Regions from separate parts of the Homo sapiens genome. Here all the other regions are linked to region 1. Evidence: promoter capture Hi-C in 16 types of primary human blood cells and fetal thymus (Javierre and others, 2016). All regions are on one chromosome and are shown on one strand. Each heading gives the region's core, a stretch centred on a gene start or on the middle of the fragment in contact. The rest is flanking DNA. Distances are from core to core; before and after follow the strand shown.

The links. Contacts are between HindIII fragments. The CHiCAGO score rates a contact against its expected background, and 5 or more counts as called.
Region 2: a fragment that was not itself captured here is called in contact with the fragment with the promoter of IFNW1 in region 1 in 6 of 17 cell types (activated CD4 T cells, total CD4 T cells, naive CD4 T cells and 3 more); the score reaches 10.6 in activated CD4 T cells.
Region 3: a fragment that was not itself captured here is called in contact with the fragment with the promoter of IFNW1 in region 1 in 1 of 17 cell types (naive CD4 T cells); the score reaches 5.3 in naive CD4 T cells.

The regions. Positions count from the first base shown.
Region 1 is chr9:21,139,685-21,143,714 of GRCh38, forward strand. IFNW1 (interferon omega 1) reads right to left here and starts at 2,148. Exons shown (of 1, transcript NM_002177.3): 1 at 948-2,148. The coding sequence starts at 1,886. The coding sequence ends at 1,299. RefSeq lists enhancers at 1,823-1,962, 2,053-2,102. The HindIII fragment of the contact is 3,128 bases long and covers 531-3,658 here.
Region 2 is chr9:19,911,624-19,915,653 of GRCh38, forward strand. It overlaps a transcript of SLC24A2 not described here. Among named protein-coding and RNA genes, the nearest start is that of SLC24A2, 120 kb to the left of the region's middle. The HindIII fragment of the contact is 3,374 bases long and covers 407-3,780 here.
Region 3 is chr9:19,936,750-19,940,779 of GRCh38, forward strand. It overlaps a transcript of SLC24A2 not described here. Among named protein-coding and RNA genes, the nearest start is that of SLC24A2, 150 kb to the left of the region's middle. The HindIII fragment of the contact is 5,442 bases long and covers 1-4,030 here.

The DNA.
Region 1 (4,030 bases), core at 898-3,397:
AGTATTCTTAATTTCTCTTTTTTGTGTTTCCTCTTCAACTTACTCCAATCGTGTTTCTATCCCATTCATTCTACTAAACCAGATCCTCCTAAGGTCATCAGTGGAGTCTGTTTCCAGGTTCAGTAGGACAGCTCAGCCCTCACCTTCCCTGAAAGTACCACTGTCTTCCCCTCATTAGACTCTCCCTCATTCTTTCCCATTTCTCTTTCTAATTGCACTGGCAACTTTACCTCAGGCTCCTTTACATATTCTCCTTCTCTGCTCTACCTTTGAATGTTGAGGGTCTGCAGGACAAGGTTATGTCCTCATCTCATTGTCTCCTCTGTTTATAAGTGACTACATTCATTCCTATGTCCTTGTTACCAGACATGCAATAAAGAATCTTAAATTAATACCTTTGCCCATGGGATTTGTTGTTCACTCTAGACCCATATTCCCAATTGCGCATAAGATTTCTGCAATTTCATGTCTCCCAGGCACCTCAAAAAGGACATCTAATATTTTTCTTTCTCAACATCATTTGCACCTAAAGCTTCTAGTATGAGAACATCATTTTCTTTTACTTATCTTTGTAGTGTTTCATATAAGCGAAATTGGTACATCTTTACTGTTTCTTTTCCTGTAAGAATGAAAGCTCTTCAACACGGAAAGAAACTGTGTTTATTCACCTGTATTTCTTTTTTAAAATAACTTTTTAATTTTTGTGGGTACATAGTAAGTGTATATATTTATTGGTTACATGAGATATTTTGATACAGTCATGCAATGAGTACACCTGCATTGCTTGACATCAATTCCAAAATATGCCACTTTGATACTCACTTTATACATATTATGTAAATGGAATGAATGAATAGGTAAGTGTATATTACCGTCCATTCCTTGATTTGGTTCAGAAAACTAGTGTTTGGATTTTGGTTTTCGAATAAATAACTTCAAGAAGTTTTGTTTGAAAATAATTTAATAAATAACAAAATACAATATTTAACCAAATGGAAAGCTGAACATGTTTTGTTATCTTAATACAATGTAAAGGCAAACATTTGTTATATAAGAATATAAATAGTATAAATATGATAAAATGTAAGAATAAATAAATGAGTAAAAATAAATAACATCTTAGGGACTGATGCCCCTGAACCTAAGTCTTTTTAACATATACTGGCTTAATATACCGACAAAGTATTTGCAGAACTAATTCAGTCAATTCTGTGATTAAAGCCGAAATAAGAGTCTTTTGAATTGACCAGAGTCACATGTGCAAGTGTTATATGGCAAATTAATCAATGAGAATCATTTCAAGATGAGCCCAGGTCTCTATCTTTACTTCTCAGTCTTTCTTGCATGTTTGTTGATAAGAACAAGGATTTCATGATTTCCATTCTGACAACTTCCCAGGCACAGTCGCTGTATTTCTTCTCTTTCAGGTAGACACGGATTCCCTGGAAGTACCTCCTCAAGGTCAGTGCAGGGCTGCTAATTGCCCCAGCAGATTCTCCTTCTCCCACTACCTGCAGCAAGCAGGTCTCCAGGTGTTGCAGTTGCTGATGAAGTCCAGTGTGGAGTTGGTCTAGGAGGGTCATGTTCCAGGCAGCAGAGGAGCGCTCTGTGTGGAAGAGGCTGAAGATCTGCTGCAGCATCTCATGGAGGACAGACATGACATGGGCCTTCTGCAACTGGCTCCCTTTTACCATCTCCTGGGGGAACCTGAAGTCTCTTCTGTCCTTGAGACACAAGAAAGGGGAGATTCTCCTCATTTGGTGCAGAAGCACCAAGGTGTTCCTGCTAAGTAGGCCATGGTTCTGAGGCAGATCACAGCCCAGAGATCCAACAGGGCTATAGCTGGTCATCACTAGGGCTGCCAGTAGAGGGAACAGGAGGGCCATTGGGAAATGAGGATGCTCCTGGCTTTACTGAGCTGGGATATGGCTTAACCTTGGACCCTAGGTTTTCTGAAGACATTGCTTGTATGCATGGCTTTTAATAGGAAACACATGGTTTTCATTTTCTGAACATTTCTCTGTACTTTCAGTTTCTTTTACTGTTTTCATTTGTGTGTTCTCCCTATGACCTTAAGAGGATGACAACAATCTATTAATTTTGCATTAGACTTCAGCTAAACTCCAGTAAACTTCAGCTGTGTCAATACAAATGAATGCTTAATCAAATGAAAAACGTCTGGGTACTAAAGTCATAAGTGTATATACTATATGCATGTAAATAATCAGACACACACTACACTAACAATATATATATTATATATTTATGTATACACACTATAGTGAATATATGTATATATGTGTATATATAATATATATTCATATATATATGAAAAAAATCATTTTCTCTGTTCTAGAAGCAAAATTTTAACCCTTATTCTAGCCTCCATTTTTACCCTCCTTACTTTATGTAGGAAGTCAGGCCCTATAGGTTTCTATATTTGCTTCAGGTTTACCAGATCATCTGCAGCAAATAAGCTCTTTAGAACCAAGAACAGCATTTTGCTGTTGTTTGTTTGTTTTTTAGAGATGGGGTCTTAATCCGTCACCCAGGTTGGAGTGTGGTGGCATGATCAGAGGTCACTGCAGCCTTTAACTCCTGGGCTCAAGCAATCTCTGTGCCTCAGCCCCCTGAGTACCTGGGACAACAGGTGTGCACCATCATGCCTGGCTAATTTTTTTGTTGTTGTTGTTGTTAGAGATGAGGTCCCACTATGTTGTTCAGGCTGGTCTCAAACTCCTGGCCTGAAGCTGAGGCCTCCTGCCTCAGCCTCCCAAGTAGTTGGAATTACAGATATGAGCCAAAAACGCAGTTTTGTTTGCTGTTTTATTCACAACAGAGGATGATGATGATTAGCGAATGAGCTTCTCTGACATTTTTCTTCCTTCTAGAAAACATTCATGCAGGTCCATGTGGTTACGCTTCACTGGGACCACAAGGTGAAGATTAATATAGACACTGCTTTTTCTTTCCATCATTTGCTTACTGAGGTCAATAGTGCTCCCCTATCTGTCAATATCCCAGCTGGAATCCTGATTCTTTACAAGCGCATATGGATGTAGAGATTCTAATTCGCAGATATTTTACTTTCCCAGCGTCTCCTCACACACAAGGTAGTTATCACATCTAGTAATACCTTTTCCTCTAGAGTAACAAATACTCTCAACCCAAACTCTTCCAGACTCGCTCCCAGGGAGCAGTCTCACAACATCCTGATAACTTCAGAACTCTTTTGGTGAGAGGGTAGTGGTTACTTTGTGAGCAAAGCAACTAACCCTCCAAGACCCTTGCCGGTGCCCCTAGAGTGTTTGTCTGGAGGACCCTGGCTCTCAGTGGCGACCTCCTTTCCTCCTGACCCATGTGTCCAGGTATCAAAAGTTTCGACAGCCCTCAGGTACTGATAGCAAAGGTTTCTTTTGTCTAAGGAAGGTGGAAGGATTACCCAATTATAATCATTTTACCTTCATTAGTCAAATAATTTTCCACCATTTGCTTACTGAGGTCAATAGTGCTCCACTGGCTGTGTCAGTATCCCAGCTCGGAATCCTGACACGGTTTTTATTGTTCAATTCTTTTACGTAAGCTATTGAACATTTGTTATCCTCAGTGTTTCTCAGGTGGGCACAGGGGATCAATGATGATGTTGTCTTTCATTAGAAGCTTATATGTGCCAAATTTTCTAGATCCAGTCTATCGTTGTTGGACATTTGGGTTGGTTCCAAGTCTTTGCTATTGTGAATAGTCCCGCAATAAACATACGTGTGCATGTGTCTTTATAGCAGCATGATTTGTAATCCTTTGGGTATATACCCAGTAATGGGATGGCTGGGTCAAATGGTATTTCTAGTTCTAGATCCCTGAGGAATCGCCACGCTGACTTCCACAATGGTCGAACTAGTTTACAGTCCCACCAACAGTGTAAAAGTGTTCCTGTTTCTCCACATCCTCTCCAGCACCTGTTGTTTCCTGACTTGTTGATGATCGCCATTCTAACTGGTGTGAGATGGTATCTCATTGTGGTTTTGATTTG
Region 2 (4,030 bases), core at 844-3,343, 1.2 Mb before region 1:
GAGCTACTGATATGGCGTCCAGTCTCAACTGTGGTTTTATCCTAAAGTGTCATTGAATATCCAGCTTCTCTTCCTAGCAATGAGACATTAATGGCTCTATCTTAGCTTTCCACTCAGCCTGTCCTATGGTAGGAACTCCACTTGACCTGTGGTTATGGGAGACACATCTATGATGCACCATCGCTATCACTTGTCTAGATCTTATCTCAGCACACTGGGTTCTCTTTCCATTTACACTAAAATCAGACATTTAAGGGTGAACTTGGGGGTTAAACAAACATATGTGGATACATTTGAGAAACAGACCATCAGCATTACATGCCATTGAGCCTTTTAGTGTCTGAGACCTAAGGTTTTATTTGTTTACTCACCCAATCATTTTATATAAATGTATATTTATATTTTAAGCTTTCTTTTAAAGCCACTGCATAGCTTCACTATGACCAGATAATGAGAATTCTTGACAATGGAGTGTCGTGGAGGTATTCAAACCCCCGGGGTGGGGACCGAGGCCAGCAGTTAGATGTTAGGCAAACTCTTCTGCTGAGACACATGCTTCCCCTACACAAACACAGATACAAATGTCAGAGCTGGAAAGGAGACCTTAGGGATCATCCTGGTGAGCTATCATTTTAGAGATGCAGATACTGAGCCTATTAAAATTTTAAGTCAGTGCCTTCAGATGTTATCCCATGGATAGTGATGGGTAGCATTTGAATGTCCTGGAAAAATGGTTACAAATAGTGTATGAATTCCCTGTTCCTATCCCATTGGCAGGGATTTAAATCAGGTATAGGTTGGAAATCATCGGTTTCAGTAATTTGTCAAGTTATTGGCTCACAGTCAGGATTAGAACATGGGTTCTCTGCTCTCTACAGTACAACAGATGGCCTTCCTCCATCTATCTAACCATAAACAATTCTATCTTTTTTCTACTGAATGCACGTGGGACCCTCACTTGGTCACACATTTCTTGCTATTCCTCCCAGATTTGTCCTATTCACAAATTGGATAAATAAATCATCTTAGTTTTCACATCGTTTATAAAATGTTCACAAAGACAAAACAACACTGGAACCTCCCAGCTCACATTAGAACCTCCAGTGGTGGATACTATCCCATCAACCTGCATCCCTTTGGGATTCTTCATTTGCCTAATTGATAATTTTTCCTTTTGAACTCAATCCAACCCTTATTTCTCTATTTTGTCCCAAAATGATGTTATGAAAGATGTCAAATGCCTGGTTGACATACAGAAACATTATATCCAACTTTTCCCTCAACTTACAGGCTTGTGAAACTATCAACAAATCATTTGTAAAAATTTAAATGAACCTGATCTCCATTTATTAATATTCTCTCCTTCTTCAAAGCCTATGACTCAGGTCTCCTGGTTTTCTTTATATCTCTCTGACAATTACCTCTCTAATTCATTGGCTATTTCTCTATTTTTCTTAGCCCAGTTTCTATCACTTCTACATTCTCACATCATTTTACATACTCTTCCCAGGTCGTCTCATCTAAATTGAAGAATTCAACCACTATCTATTTGCTAATGACTCCAAGATCTATGACCAGTTTTTCCAAAATATAGGCCCCATATTCTCATCTACACCTGAATGTTTGGCTGCAGGCTTATACCAGAGATACCAGTCATTTTTTTGTTTGCCAACATTCCCTTCTTAGAGACGTGCCCACATCCCATAAAGAGTAGTCACATAAATCACTCTGACTTCATCCCTCAGGCCATAGCTGACTTGGCCAGAGTGGATATCTCATCCAAGCTAGTCCAGTCAGATTCCCTTGTGTGGGAATCAATCACCTCCATCTGTAAGGTGATTTAGGGCTTGGAATTGTGTCCTGAGGATAAATAAGCAGAGAAAGCCAGTATACAGGGAGAATCCAGAGATTAGGGCAGACATGCAAAGGGAAGCAAAGCAAAGGACATCGTGATTTCAGAAAGATAGAGATGGAGTAGGTGGCTGCCTGAGAATTTTCCAGTGCCAGCAAGCCTATGCTTTATTGCTTTCATTGTATTTCATGAGATTAACCATCCTTTATCAAATACAATTTGAAAACCTACTTTATGCCAGGAACTTTGCTAGGTATAAGAGAAATTTTGTTGAATAAGGAAACCATGGTCTATGACTCCACAAATCTACATTTGAATGCCTTCTCACAGTAAATTCTTGTTTCCTTGCATTTACTTGAGTGTGTTTCTTGCATTCCATCAATCCATACTTAATTCTTTTTTTTCTTTTTTTAATTTTTGTTTTCCTGGGTAAGCACTTAATTCTTACTGTATCCCAAACCAACCTCATCTTCCTCACTATGCCAGCTCCTTCTCCAAAAAACCTACAATCTTGATCAGCGGTGGTATGCCCAATCTTGATTAACTGGGTAGTATGCCCAGTTTTCAAAACCAGAAACCTCACAGTTGCCCTTTGTTCCTCCTCTGCTTCACTACATATCTAGTCCGTTACCAAATACTTTGGGTTCTACCTCAAAATGCGCTTCCTTTCAGATCTTACTTTTTGTCCTTACTTTTATCTTGTCCAGGGTTAGATTCTTGACACCTGCCACTTGAGTGTTTCAACCACCTCCTGTCAGATCTACCTGTTGAATATCTCCCTACACAGCTCATCCTCCATGATGTCATCAGACCTCTTCCTAGGATCCATACTGGATCTTGACACATGCCTCCTAAACATGTCCACTGGCTTTCCATTATCACGAAAATAAAACCCATACACCTTATACAAAAGACCCTACTTGATCTGGTCCAAATTCCTCTCAATTGCTCTCTCCCACAACTTGTATTCCAGTGATTTCCAGTCACTAAACATGTAGCATTTTCTGAGTTTGCTCATTTTTAATAATATACATTTCCTTCTGTCTAAAAAGGCTATCCTCAGGTCTTGGCCTGGCAAAGTCATCTTTTAAGACCAGCTCAAATATCATCTATTCTGAGCCAGGCAGAGGACATGTTCTCTTAAGGCATTCTGTTCACCCCTCTGGCATAATCTAGCCGAGAGTGACAAGAGATTACGATAATAATCCCTTATGACCTTGCCTTGTTGTTAACAAAGTTATCTCGTTTGAACCATATAATGACTCAGATGAGGCAAGAAGGCATCCCATTTCATAGATGAGAAAATGGGCTCAAGACAGCAAGTATCCTCCCCAGTGTCATGTGGACAGGATGGGATCCAGATTTTGTAGCCAGAATCTGGCCACATAAAAGATCTGAGCTGAGGTGCTTCAGGAGTTCTGCACACATTTGATTTGTATTTTATTTTAAAACATGTATTTTAATAATTTAAAAAAAAGATTGATATAAAAGTCACCATTTTAGCCATTTTAAAGTGTGCAATCTAATAGTTTTTAGTATATTCACAATGTCGTACAACTGTTACCATTAAGTAACTCCAGAATATTCCCATCACTCCCAAAAGAAACCCTATACCTCCCAATCCCATCCTCTACCTGCCCTTGGCAACTACTTTTGTCACTATGAATTTACCTATTTTGGATATTTCACATGAATGAAGTTATATAATATGTGACCCTTTTTTGTCTGGCTTCTTTCCTTAGCATAATGTTTTCAAGTCTCATATATGGTGTAGCATGTATCAGCGCTTCGTTCTTTTTTATTGCCTAATAATATTTCATTGCATGAATATACCACATTTTGTTTATCCATTCATCAATTGATAGACATTTGGGTTGTTTCCACTTTTTGGCTCTTGTGAATAATGTCCCTATGAACATTCCGGTACAAGCTTTTGTGTGAACATATATTTTCAATTCTCTTGGGCATATACCTAGGTATAGAATTGTAGGGTCATACGGCAAATCTTTAACTTTTGAGGGATTGCCAAACTTTTTCCAGAGCACTGCACCATTTAATAATATATTCCCACCAGCAATATATTAAAGGTTCCAATTTATCCATATCCTTACCAACAGTTATTTTCTTGGCTTATTATTATGATGATGATAGTAGTTCTAGTAGGTATGAAGTAGCATC
Region 3 (4,030 bases), core at 639-3,138, 1.2 Mb before region 1:
AATCCTCCCCTTTTCATATTAAGGTGTCTAGAGATATTATCTCAAGATGATAAATGGGGAAAAAGAGGTTAAGCCTCTTATCTAGATTTATGGAGGTAATTGCTAAAAGAACCAAAAACAAACAGTTAAAAGAGGTTGAATCTGGGGAGTGGGATGGGGTGGAGGCAGAGAGCAGAGAGGTAGAGGCTGCTGCTTTTCAGACCTTAAATTCTTCTGTCCTCACTCGTATGTTCCCACACATATGTATTACTTTAGTGGATTTTTTTTAAGCAAAAACCAAAAAGTCAGGAGAAAGGAAAATATGGTAGGAACATAAAATTGAGTCAAGAATTAGGCCTAAAAACACATACCGCATTGATTCACACATTTGCTGCAGCTGGGCCACACATTTGGCTCTGAGCTGTGCCAGAGCAATTATAGAGGGACCCCTGGTCAGTCCATGTATAATATCCACAAGATGAAAACAGACCAACTGGGAGAATTTTGGCTGCTCCTTGCTATTAAAATATCAGAATGAAATTTCTTCCAGGGGTCTTCCTAAAGAAGGCATGGAGAGATGATTAACATCCTCAACAATGTCTTTGAAATGTACAGAATAATGGTTTTCACGTTTTGTTTTTTCCCTTAGAATTCTCAACCCAGATTGCTGGTGTCACACTCAAGTGCAACTTAGATAAATAATTCCATGAGAACTCAGCTCCTTGCTTGATATAGGGATAGATTTTGGAATATCTTGAAAGATACATGCAGTTTTGTACTAGCAGAATTGTTACTTTTAACTTTAAAAATTTCAAATAGAATTTCTCTCAACTGAGCTATTGAAAATTATCAGCTGAAAATGAGTTTAAAACTATACTTTCTAATGAACACCCGGATTACAGCTAATCAATGTTGTCTGTTGAAATATATCTATGTATCCTAATAATTGAGAGACAGATATTTTGTTTATGATATTTGTGTCTATGCAAACGAAGTGCTATTATGAACACAACTATATTTACATATACACATTTCCTGTGCTTCTCTCTGGATAGCAAAGCTGTGTTCTAATGCTGTCTTCAGGATGTATATGGTTGGGGACAGCCTTATAGGTGAAATGTTGTATTTCTGGTACTTCAGCAATTAGATAATATTGCACAGAAAGTCAAATATAACTTTTACACTAACAATTGTGGTTTGCTTATTACAAAAGCAATATGTTTATTAAAAATGAAAATACATGAAAAGAAGAAAACAGAACAGTATAAAAACAGTACAGAATAGAAATAACAATATTGCATTTATTAATAGCATTAACTATTAGTGAGTCTTTTCTATACTGTATAGATTAAAAATGAAATAATATTTTATAGTACTCTTATAGACTGTGATTTCCTTTAATACCAGTGTCTGTCTTCCCATACCATTAGATATTCTTGCAGAAAATCTTTTTAAAAGTCTGTATAACCCATCATTTTGGTGTATATTTAGGTTATCTAGCCAGTTGCCCACTGTTGGACATTCATTTCAAAAAACATGATATAGAAACTCAATATTAAAGGTTGAATTGATAGGTTCTTTAATATACTATTTCCCAAAAGAAAAGTCTGAGAAAACTGAAAGATATTCTAAACTGGATAGACATTTTTTACAGCCCCATTTAACTTACATGGACAATAGTTTTAACTACCATTTGTCTTCCCAATACTGTGACACTTCCTTTCAGTTTGAAAGAGAAATTTCATGGTGATTAATAGAGGTATGGTTTATTAAAATGTTTAAATTAAAAAGTTGACTATGGACTCTGGAATAGTCTCCTTCTGCTTCACATTTCTAATGTTATTAGTTAGGTAAGACACTAACACTCACCTAGACCTATAAGTCTCCAGGTCTCTTTTCCTATTTTAACACTTCAATGACTAGGAAATATGACTTCCTCTGTTGTTAACCCTCTAGTGATTCTTTAATTGCTCCATGGATCCTTGGTGTTTTGTAAACTGAGATGACTGAGATGTTTTATTGCTACAATTTAATAATGTATATATTTTCCAAGTTTCCAGAAAAAAAGTTGCTAGATAGAATTTTCTCATTTTAACATTTTGCTCCGCACATTTTACTTAAAACTTTGGCATCCGCTACAGCTTGTCTTTTTGAGACTATGTACAAAACAAAACAAACAAACAAACAAAAAACAAAGAAATCAACAAAACCCAAAACTAAAAATATCTTACAAATAGGCAATAAACAAATGGTAATGGAGAATGGAAAAACTCATAAGGTATCTGTTGTTTAGTCCCACTAACTTTATTTTCATGTCCGTAACTATTATGGCAGATCACACAGATAAATATGTAGGTGATATCTGTCTTCTTCTAGTAGTCTTGTTTCTGGATTCTAGTGTACATAACAGAATGGAGGATATAAGCATATCCTGGTGTTCTGGAATGAGTATAGTGCCACCTAAGTGTTTGGCCCTCTAAACCTGAGAACAAAGCAGTTAGGTTTTGAGAAATGTGTCCTTAGGTGATTTCATCATTGTGTGAACATCATGGAGTATACTTATACAAACCTAGATGGTATAGCTACTTACACGCCTAGGCTATATGGTATATAGCCTATTGCTCCTAGGCTATGAATCTGTACAGCATGTTACTGTAGGAATACTGTAGGCAATTGTAACACAATGATGAGTATTTGGATTCTAAACATATTTAAACATAGAAAAGGTACAGTAGAAATATGGCAGAGAAGATTAAAAAATGGCACAGCTGTACAGGGCGCTTACCACGCCTGGAGCTTGCAGGACTGGAAGGTGCTCTGGGTGAGTCAGTGAGTGAGTAGTGAGTGAATGTGAAGGCCTAGGACATTACTGTAAACAACGGTAGACTTTATAAATACTGTCAACTTAGGCTACACTAAATTTGTAAAAAATAAAGTAATTGCACTATGACATTTCCACAGCTATACTATCACTAGGGGATGGGAATTTTTCAGCTTCGTTATAATCTTAGGGGCCCACTGTCCTACAAGTGGTCTGTTGTTGACCAAAATGTCATCATGCAGCACGTGACTATAATGCTGTAGGTAGAAATAAACTGCCAGCCCCTAGTGAATTACGGCTATGCTAAAATCATGACTTCTGCCAAATCCCTTCTCCAGAAATCCCTGGCACACTCAGATAAAATGCTCCAACTCACACAGTGTGTTTTGCAGTAGCACATGCTTCCAAGTTTTTCTCCACCCCAGGCTTTAACAATAGCACTTCAACTGATTGAACACTTCTCTGTACCAGCTATCTCACTTCTCACGACACCCTTGGGGGTTTGAGGGGATGCTCCCATTCCCATCGCACCCATGGGGAAGTGAAAGTGCAGAGTAAAAAACTCATCAAAGGCTGCAAAGCTGTAAGTGGCACCGCTTGCATTGTTTTCCTTTAGGGTTTTTCTCTGGGACACTCCCAGCTCCTGTCTGAACATAGTAGTTAAGAGGCATCTGGTAGCTCTTGAATATGGGATTGTGGAACTAATAATCCAAACAGGGGAACAGAAGAGGCTTTTGCCAACTGTTCCATATAAGCCTTGCCACATGACTTTTGTACAGAATAGTCAGGGGGTACTTTTATAAACAAGGCTAGGTGAACATTTGAAGCCTTACTGTACTTCATACATTGGCCTAGAGGTGGGCTCCCTTCCTAGCACCTATTTACTCTGTGACCTTAGGTAAATTGTATGTTCTTATTGAGTGTCAACTTCCTCGTGTAGAATTTTAGGGGTTGGACTACATGAGTGCTCATGTCTCTCCCAAATTCAACCTTTTCTGACACTGTAACCCTCACCCCTACCCCCAACCCCAAAAGGCTTGTGGAATCTGTTTTCCTACTGTGCTTTCCACACGTGTCTCTGTGGGCTTACTATGTCAGTGAGTTTATAGATTCAGCTCTGAGGATTGCTGACAAAGGGCCATTTGTTGCACTCACACTCAAGGTGAGAAGTTACAAAAAGGTGATTTTATATGGGATGGGCTTCTGGCCTACAATGCCTGCTCCCAAGGG